3 separate regions of the Homo sapiens genome follow, and all the other regions are linked to region 1. The links are contacts of gene promoters, found by promoter capture Hi-C in human tissues and cell types (Jung and others, 2019). All regions are on one chromosome and are shown on one strand. Each heading gives the region's core, a stretch centred on a gene start or on the middle of the fragment in contact. The rest is flanking DNA. Distances are from core to core; before and after follow the strand shown.

Region 1 (3,200 bases), core at 382-2,881:
ACATTATTCTGTTTTATTTATGTTTATTTCGGTGTTTAATACTGTAGCTTTAAGGTAAGTCTTGAAATTCGTGTGAGTCCTGCTACTTGGGTCTTCTTTTGCAAGAATGGTTGGATCCTTCAAAGTCCTTTTGCATTTCCACGTGGATTTAAGAATCCTCTTGTTAGGCCGGGCGTGGTGGCTCATGCTTGTAATCCCGGCACTTTGCGAGGCTGAGGTGGGCAGATCACCTGAGGTCAGGAGTTCGAGACCAGCCTGGCCAACATGGTGAAACCCCGTCTCTACTAAAAATACCAAAAATTAGCTGGGTATGGTGGCGGGTGCCTGTAATCCCAGCTACTGAGGAGGCTGAGACAGGAGAATCACTTGAACCCGGGAGGCAGAGGTTGCAGTGAGCTGAGATTGTGCCATTGCACTCTAGCCTGGGTAAGAAGAGTGAAACTCCGTCTCAAAACAAACAAACAAAAAACAAACAAAAAACCAAGAATCTTCTTGTTAATTTCTTTTAAAAATAAGAAATTATCCCGGGATTTTGATAGGATTGTATTTAATTAAGAAAATTGACATCTTAACAATATTGAGTCTTCTAATCCATGGCCATGGCAAATTTTTTTATGTGTTTAGGTCTTTAATTTTTCTCAGCATTGTTTTGTGCTTTTCAGTGAGAGGCTTTGTACATTTGTGTTAAGATTATTCCTAAATTTAAAAATTATATTGTAAATAGCAGTTTTATAATTGTATTTTCCATTTATTTGTTGCTATTATATAGGAATAAAATTAATTTTCTTTACTGACCTTGTGCCCTGTGATGCCACTAAATTTACTTATTAGTTCTAGCAGACTTGCCCCAGTTTCCTTAGACTTTTCTGTTTACATAACCATGTTACCTGCCAAACAAGACGACCTTTTCCTTTCCAGTATTTATGCCTTGTATACCTTTGTCTTGCCTCATTACAGTGGCCTCATTGTGCCGCTGGTATAAGAGTGACACCGAATAAGAGTGGTGAGAGTGAGAAGTGCTCAGAGCCCCTTCCTTGTTTCTGATTTTAGGGGGAAAATCTTTACTCCATCAGCAGCATTTGATGTTAGCTTCAGATTTTTTATAGGTGTCCTTTCTCAGCTGAGGATGGTCCCTTCTGTTCCTGGTTTGCTGAGAGTTTGCATACACGTTTTGCCATGTGCTGTGTCTGCATCTAATTGAGATGGCCATATTTTTTTCTCCTTTCATTAATGTGGTGAATGACATTGATTTTCAGGTGTTAGCTAAGCTTACATTACTGGGTGAATCTCTCTTGGCTATGCTGTATTATCCTTTCAATACGTTGTTGAATTAGTTTGTTACTATTTTATTACAGAGTTTTGCATCCACATTCATGAAGGATATTGGGCTGTAATTTCCCTTTTCTAGGAATGCTGTTGTCTCACTTTGGCAGCAGCATTATGCTGGTCCTCCTCCTCTGTTTTCTGAAAGAGTATGTGTATGGTTTGTATTATTTCTTACTTATATCGTGTGTAGAGTTCATCCGTAAGCCACCTGCACCCACCATTTCCTTGTAGAAAGATTTTTAATTATAAATTCAGATTTTCTACTTCTTTGTATGTCAGTTTTGGTAGCTTGTGTTTGTGAAAAATTTGTCTGTTTCATCTACATTTTCTCTTGGCATTCAGTTCCTTATAGTGCTTTGTTACCCGCTTAATATCTGTAGGATCTGTAGGAATGTCCCTTTCATTTCTGATATCGGTAATTTATGCCCTCTTCCTCTCTTGGCTCTCTGTCTCTTTTCTGCTTAGTCTGCTTGGGAAATTGATCTTTTTTTTTTTTTAAGTTTTCCAGGCTAACTTTGTGTTTAATTCTTCATTATTTGTCTATTTTTCATTTCATAGATTTCTGTTATTTCCTTCCACTTTGCATTTAATATGCACTTCCTTTTTCTGGCTTCTGAAGGTGGATGTATGAATCACTCATTTTAAGCCTTCTCTCCTAATATGAACATTTATAAATTTCTTCCTCAGCTGAGCTTTAGCTGCATTCTACACATTTTTATAAGTGATGTTTTTATTGTAATCTTCTCTTTAGCACTGTTTAATCTGATGTTCATTTCATCTCAAAAATTTCATTTTCGATGTATTCTTCAGTTCCAGGAATTTTTGTTTATTATTTTGTGGAGTTTCCGATTTTTTCAGAGCCCTAATTGCTTTGTTGATTATGTCCAACCTTTCCTCTAAATCTTTGGATATATTGGCCGGGCACAATGTCTCATGCCAGTAATCCCAGCACTTTTGGGAGGCCAAGGCGGACAGATTACTTTAGGTGAGGAGTTTGAGACCAGCGTAGCCAACATGGTGAAACCTCATCTCTACAAAAATACAAAAATTAGCTGTGCTTGGTGGCGTTCGCCTGTAATCCCAGCTGCTCTGGAGGCTGAGGCAGGAGAATCACTTGGGAGACAGAGGTTGCAGTGAGCCGAGATTGTGCCACTGCACTCCAGCCCGGGCAATAGAGGACACTGTCTAAATAAATAAATAAATCGTTGAATATATTTATTTCATTCTTTTAAAGTCTTTGTTTGTTACTTTCATTATCTTTGTTATCTCTAGGCCTGTTTCTGTTGACTTATTTTTCCTGGTTATGAGTTACATTTTTCTGCTTCACCTGTCTAGTAATTTTTTTGTACACTAGGTATTGTGGTAGCAATGTTGTTGAAAGTCTCAGTTCTGTTTTCCTCCCTTAAAGAGTAGTGTGGTTTGTTCTGGAAGGCAGTTAATTTGCTCTTGGTTAGCTAGGATCCGTTTGAGGCTTGTTTTTAAGCTTTATTATGCCAGGTCCAGAGAACCCCCTCACTCTGGGCTATTGTAGCCCAGTCCCCATGGCACAGCCATTGTGGAATCTCTGTTAAATCTATTCGCCCAAGGTGTCTCCAGTCTGGGTGTGGGAACACGTCTGTCTCCTGCCCCGTGTGGCCTCCAGAACCTCTCTTCCTCACGCTTCCCAGAGCTGTTCTCTGCCAGGTCTTGCAGATGTTCTCTCTGACACCCTCAGCTATTTGTCCAGAAGCTTCCTTGGATCCCTGTTGATGTTTTTAGAGTCCCTTCTCTGTGCAGCTCTGTCCTGACTGCCTCCTCATCCTGCAAATTTCAACAGCTCAGCGGCTTGAGACTTCCATCCCTGCCACCTCAGCTTCTCCAGACTGCAGGCCCCA
Region 2 (3,200 bases), core at 448-2,947, 100 kb after region 1:
CACCTGCCCAGGTCCTGCCCTGTGGCCAGGGGCCCTTCCGTGCCGTGGCGGGTGGCGGAAGGCTGTGCACCCAAGGTGAGGCAGCTCCCCTGAACCCCTCAGTCTAAACCCCTTCCTGCAGCTCTGCCGTAGTTACATCACAGCCACGGCCCTCCCCCAAGAGCCTGGGCCTGGCCCACTTTCTTTCCCCAACGCCACCTCCCAGCTCCTCCTCTGTGCAGCCGTGAGGGGCTGAGCCTCCACCCTGCACCAGCGCTCTCCTCCTCCTTCCCTCCACCCCTGCCCGCCCGGGTCTAAGGAACTTCTCGGATTGGAAGGGAGAGGCAGTGCCGTGGGACCTCGGGGACACCAAGAGACAGGCCGGTCCTGAGAGAAGAAAGAAAATGGCTGAGCCCCAGCCTCCACAAAGGCGACTCTGTGAATGTGCCTGACCAGATGAAGGGCTAGCCAAACCCAGCGGGCCGGGGAGAGTTGGCCACATGCGAGGGTAGCTGGGTTGCCTCTGGCCTGGGTTCGGCCCCGCAGGGACCCGGCCTGTTCCCTAGAATGACAGCCAGGCCCCACCGGGAAGCCCCCTCCACCGGCAGGCCGCGGGGCTGCTCCACGGGTCAGGTCCCACGCACTTCTGGTCCCAGCACCAATGGCCTCTCCCTGCCCCGTGGGAATGCAGGTCACAGACGCTCCGCCCGCCCGAGCCCGAGCCGGAGCAGCGCAAGGCGCTGTCCAGCCCTCTGCAGGTCCCCGCACTCTCCCGCCCCCACCGCGGAGGGAGATCGGGCCTGCCCGGAGGCCCCGGTGGCCGGCGCGCGGAGGTGGGAGTCCCGCCGGGGGCGCAGCTGCTCGGGCAGCACGCCTATTAGCGCGGCCGCGGCAGACGGCAGATGGGCGCCCGCGCGGCCCCCTCCTCCCGCGGCACAATGGGCCCGGTCGCTGGGGCGCACAATGCGGCCCGGGCCGCGCACCTGCAGCGGGGCCCGAGGGGCGCCGTCCCGTGCGCCCCTGTCCGCCTGCGCGCCCCGCGCCGCGCCGCGTGTCCTTGGGCCGCGCCCGGCCGACCGCAGCCAAGCGGCCTGCGGGATCCGCGGCGGAACCGGGGCGCACGAGCGGACGGGGGCGCACGGGCCGCCCATTGTTCGCGGCCGGGGCCCGGGCCGGGCCTGCGGCTTCGCGGCCGGGGCCTCCCTCGGGCGCCCCCCACCCAGCGCGCTGCCAGCGCGGCCTCCCCGGCCCCGGTCCCCGCCCCGGCCGCACGCACCTGTCTGCCCCTTGCCCAGCGTCTTCTCCAGCCGGTAGGGCCCAACATACTGCGCGTGCTGCGCGCCGCCGTCCTTCCCCGTCGATGTCATCGCTCTGGGGCCCGGCGCCGGCCAGGGGCGCCCGGGCGCGCGGGCAGGGAGGGGCCGCCCAGCGTCCGCCCGCGTCCGCCGAGTGCCGTCCGCGCCGACCCGGCCGGGGCGCCCCCGCGGGCCCCGCTGCTTCGCGCCGCCCGCGTCCGCCCGCGCCGCCGCCCCCCGCGTCCACTCCGACGCGGCAGTCCGAGGCCTGGCCCGCGGCGACGCCTCCGCCTCGTCGAGAGGACAGGGCGGGCGGGGGCACCTGGCTTCCGCCGCCGCCGCCGCCGCCGCCGCCGAGGCCCGCGCCCCGCGCCCCGCGCCCCCAGCGCACGCCCGTCAGCGGCCGCGCAGCCGAGCCGAGCCGAGCCGAGCCGAGCCGTGCAGCTGAGCCGAACAGCCGAGCCCAGCAGCCGAGCCGAGCCGAACAGAGCCGAGACGAGCCGAGCCGCGCAGCTGAGCCGAACAGCCGAGCCCAGCAGCCGAGCCGAGCCGAACAGAGCCGAGCCGCGCAGCCGAGCCATGTAGCCAAGCCGAACAGCCGAGCCCTGTAGCCAAGCCGAACAGCCGAGCCGAACAGCGGAGTCGAGCGCAGCTGAGGGGAGCCGAGCCGGGCCGCGCAACGGAGCCGAGTCGACACGAGCCTGTACGAACGCAGCGGGATGCCGTGGCGGCGGCAAGCGGTGCCCGCGCCGGCCAATCAGCGCCTCCCCACCCCGCCCCGCCGCTACGAGCGCTCGGGGAGACTCTAGGGGGCGAGGCGAGGCCAGGGCGAGGCCGGGACCTGGGAGCCTCCAGCCCGCCGGCTGCCACGTCCGGTCCCACCAGGCAGCAGAGCTCCCGCTGCCGCCCGACCCGCCATTAAGGCGCATCCCGGGACGGAGCAGGCAGTGGGCCCATGGCGAGGGGGTGCAGATGGCTGCCCTGGACGGGGGTTTTACCCTGCAGGGCGTGACCCCGGGTGTCCCAAAGAGTTTCCCGCCCCTCGAGGGGGTGCTGCACGCGCGGGGGATGGGGATGCTGCCCTGGAGGGGGGCGAGTGTTGCATGCGGGGCGGGAGTGCTGTACTGGGGAGAGGTGCTGTATTCGGGGCAGGGGTGCTGCACACATGGGGGGTGCTGCACGCCAGCGAGGGGCATGCTGCGCTGGAGGGGGCGGGTGTTGCATGCAGGGCGCGGATGCGGCACACGTGGCGGGGGGGCTGCATGGGAGTCTGTGGGGCTACTGCACGCGGGCGTTGTCCAAGCAGAGATTGTGCACCCCCAGGGAGGACGTGGCCCTCCGCCTCCGCTCCCGAGGGAGAAGCGGCGGTTTTCCCAGTTATGCCACAGTGACCTGCGCGGCGCGGAGTCAAGGAACTCACCTGGGATCCGGCCGCAGCGCCCTGGCGCCTCCCGGCCCTTGCTACCGACCCCTCTTTCAGGTTGAGCAGCTGGGCAGGGGTTGCCGGGAGCAGCCTTTGGAGGTCTAAACACAGGCAGCCGAAGAGGCAGCCAGACCTGGACGGACCCTCTGTTTCTTTGCAGAAAAACACTGGTATTTCCTTAAGCCCGTGCTGCAGAAGGTGGTGGGAGGGGAGAGGTGAGGGAGACCCGGAACGCTGCAGAAGTGGGGGTCCCAGATCTTGCCCGTGTATGGTCTGCGGGCAACGTTTCCCCTGCGGGCTCTGCCACACACTGCTGCTGACCGTGGTCCGCTCCCCACGCTGGTAAGCCCGTATGAGCTCAGGAAACTGCGGGGTCTTCCCAGTGCGCCCTCCTGCTCTTTGGGCTGTCTGTATTTCCAGCTGGGGAGGGGAGTGGGCCCCAAAGCACCTGTCCACTCTCGGCCTGCACCCGCCCGCCCTGCTTCCCTTCAAATGCTGTGGAC
Region 3 (3,200 bases), core at 487-2,986, 91 kb before region 1:
AGTAACCAGGAAGAGGGAATATTAAACCACAGTGTGTAACACTGTGTTACACACCCACATGAAGGGTGTAAGTTGACAGTTGCAAGTTTTGGTGGGGGTGCCAGGAAACAGGAGCTCTCTGGCAATGCTGGTTGGACAGCAGCTGGCTGGGGGGATCCCTTGGGAAGACAGCTTGGTAACAAGAACCTCCTGACTTTCAGGCACCCACACCTGCAGGAGGGGTTTTGGGCAAGAAAGTTGCAGCTTGCTTGAAATAGCAACAAAAAGGAAACAAAAGGTCCATCAACAAGTAAATGGATAAGTCAATGTATATTTAGAAATCAGAGAAAACAAATAAATTAAAACCATATGTATCCCTAGAGAAAATCTCTTTAGCCTAACACCTATTTTTTTCAAAAGCAATTTACAGAAAGAGAAATACAGTGTAATACCCATTACATAAAGTTTTCAGCATGTAAAATTTTTTTTTCTTTTTTCTTTTCTTTTTTTTTTTTTTTTTTTGAGATAGAGTCTCACTCTGTTGCCCAGGCTGGAGTGCAATGGCGTGATTTCAGCTCACTGCAACCACTGCCTCCCAGGTTCAAGCGATTCTCCTGCCTCAGCCTCCCGAATAGCTGGGATTACAGGCACATGCCACCATACCTGGTTAATTTTTGTATTTTTAGTAAAGACGAGGTTTCACCATGTTAGTGAGGCTGGTCTCAAACTCCTGGACTCAAATGATCCGCCCACCTCAGCCTCCCAAAGTGCTGAAATTACAGGTGTGAGCCACCGCGCCTGGCCACAAAACATTTTTAAAGGAACATACATATTAAGTAGGAGTGTGAGGACCTTCATGAGAGTGGTGAATTCCAAATTCAAGAAATTATTAGGGTGGGACAGAAACAATATGGAGAGATGGAGGAACAGAGACTTCATTTATTTATGCCATTTTTTCCCAAGTTGAGTAGGGTTTTTTTTTACATTTTTTAAATATATTACTCTTTATACCATCGTTCAACTAAAATAGATCACTTTTTTTTTTTTTTTGAGACAGAGTCCCGCTCTGTTGCCCACACTAGAGTGCAGTGGTGTGATCTCTGCTCACTGCAACCTTCACCTCTGGGTTCAAGCCATTCTCCTGCCTCAGCCTCCCAAGTAGCTGGAGTTACAAGCATGCACCACCATGCCTGGCTAATTTTTGTATTTTTAGTAGAGATGGGGTTTTGCCATGTTGGGCAGGCTGGTCTCCAACTCCTGACCTCAAATGATCCACCTGCCTCGGCCTCCCAAAGTGCTGGGATTACAGATGTGAGCCACCACACCCAGTTAATTTTTGTGTTTTTAGTAGACACGAGATTTCACCATTTTGGCCAGGCTGGTCTCCAACCCCTCACCTCAAGTGATCCACCTGCCTAGGCCTCCCAAAGTGCTGAGATTACAGGTGTGAGCCACCATGCCCAGCCTAAAATAGATGCTTTTGTAAATCCAGTGTGACTCTGGAGTCAACAGGGAGAGGCTAGACCCTTGGGGGCCTCCATTAAGTCTGGACACAGATTCAGCAAGAGAGCAGCAGCCCACTGAGCAGCCCATACACCAAGGGGCGGATTTCTAGAGGAAACAAGAAAAAGGGGCCCTAAAAATGGCACAAACAGGAACCAGGAAATGTGTGCCCAGCCTCACACATGACCCTGGGCAGGGATATAAAGGGTCCAGGCTCAGGGAGCTCCACACCTGCACCTCCCTCTCACCTGCTCCTCTACCTGCTCCACCCTCAATCCACCAGAACCATGGGCTGTTGCGGCTGCTCCGGAGGCTGTGGCTCCAGCTGTGGGGGCTGTGGCTCCGGCTGTGGGGGCTGTGGCTCCGGCTGTGGGGGCTGTGGCTCTGGCTGTGGAGGTTCTGGCTCCAGCTGCTGTGTGCCCGTCTGCTGCTGCAAGCCCGTGTGCTGCCGTGTGCCAACCTGTTCCTGCTCCAGCTGTGGCAAAGGGGGCTGTGGCTCTTCTGGGGGCTCCAAGGGGGGCTGTGGCTCCTGTGGAGGCTGCAAGGGGGGCTGTGGCTCTTGTGGGGGATCCAAGGGGGGTTGTGGCTCCTGTGGGGGCTCCAAGGGGGGCTGTGGCTCTTGTGGGGGATCCAAGGGTGGCTGTGGTTCCGGCTGTGGGGGATGTGGCTCCAGCTGCTGTGTGCCTGTCTGCTGCTGCAAGCCCATGTGCTGCTGTGTGCCAGCTTGTTCCTGCTCCAGCTGTGGCAAAGGGGGCTGTGGCTCCTGTGGGTGCTCCAAGGGGGCCTGTGGTTCTTGTGGGGGCTCCAAGGGGGGCTGTGGCTCCTGTGGAGGCTGCAAGGGGGGCTGCGGTTCTTGTGGGGGATCCAAGGGGGGTTGTGGCTCCGGCTGTGGGGGCTGTGGCTCCGGCTGCGGTGTGCCCGTGTGTTGCTGTTCCTGTTCCAGTTGTGGCTCTTGCGCGGGGTCTAAGGGAGGCTGCGGGTCATCCTGCTCCCAGTGCAGTTGCTGTAAGCCCTGCTGCTGTTCCTCAGGCTGTGGGTCATCCTGTTGCCAATCCAGCTGCTGCAAGCCCTGCTGCTCCCAGTCCAGTTGCTGTGTCCCCGTGTGCTGCCAGTGCAAGATCTGATTTCTGGCTTTGCAGGACTCTTACCATGGCCAGGCATTCCTGCCCAGCCTTTACCTCCTTTTCCTGGCACCCAGTGAGCCAGACTCTCCTTCCCCACCCACTACCCTATCTCCCACCCTCCTGCCTTGCCAAGCATGAACACTTCTCTTTGACCTTCTACCAAGAAATGCCATGGGCCCATGCATCCAAGAAGAATGACTTTCAAGGCCTCCCTTCCAGGCATCTGGAGACCAGCCCCCCACCGCCCCAGCCACCTGCAGCAAATGCCTATCCGCAAGCCCTGCCTGCTGGCACCACATCCAGCACGGACAGCCCTGCAGGACAGCCCAGGGTGCTTGCTCACTCTGCAGTCACTAGGAGTTCAGATCTCTGTCCTTTAAACATCCAATAAACCGCTCACCCCAGCACCCCATAGCTGTCTTGGTATATTTATGTTTATTTCCCTCTCGAGGCAGGTGGGGGGCATCTGTGGCTACACTGGGTCCCCTGGGAACCACACACACACACACACACACACACACACACACACACACCGGCCCTGAACCAAACCGGAGCAGGCAGGTGGGCGCCCTGGCCAGCAGGGATCCTGGATAC

What was found. Contacts are between HindIII fragments. The study calls those that stand out against the background at their distance.
Region 2: a contact is called between the fragment with the promoter of BRSK2 here and a fragment that was not itself captured in region 1, in 8 of the 25 tissues and cell types used here (H1 embryonic stem cells, dorsolateral prefrontal cortex, liver and 5 more).
Region 3: a contact is called between the fragment with the promoter of KRTAP5-1 here and a fragment that was not itself captured in region 1, in 6 of the 25 tissues and cell types used here (adrenal gland, bladder, dorsolateral prefrontal cortex and 3 more).

What each region holds. Positions count from the first base shown.
Region 1 is chr11:1,492,581-1,495,780 of GRCh38, reverse strand. No RefSeq gene overlaps it. Among named protein-coding and RNA genes, the nearest start is that of MOB2, 7.4 kb to the right of the region's middle. The HindIII fragment of the contact is 6,425 bases long and covers 1-3,200 here.
Region 2 is chr11:1,388,431-1,391,630 of GRCh38, reverse strand. BRSK2 (BR serine/threonine kinase 2) reads right to left here and starts at 1,697. Exons shown (of 20, transcript NM_001256627.2): 1 at 1,256-1,697. The coding sequence starts at 1,346. RefSeq lists a silencer at 1,931-2,300. The HindIII fragment of the contact is 11,739 bases long and covers 1-3,200 here.
Region 3 is chr11:1,583,819-1,587,018 of GRCh38, reverse strand. It overlaps KRTAP5-1 (keratin associated protein 5-1), which reads left to right and starts at 1,736. Exons shown (of 1, transcript NM_001005922.1): 1 at 1,736-2,677. The coding sequence starts at 1,770. The coding sequence ends at 2,606. All of the region lies in intron 1 of KRTAP5-AS1 (KRTAP5-1/KRTAP5-2 antisense RNA 1), which reads right to left. The HindIII fragment of the contact is 15,838 bases long and covers 1-3,200 here.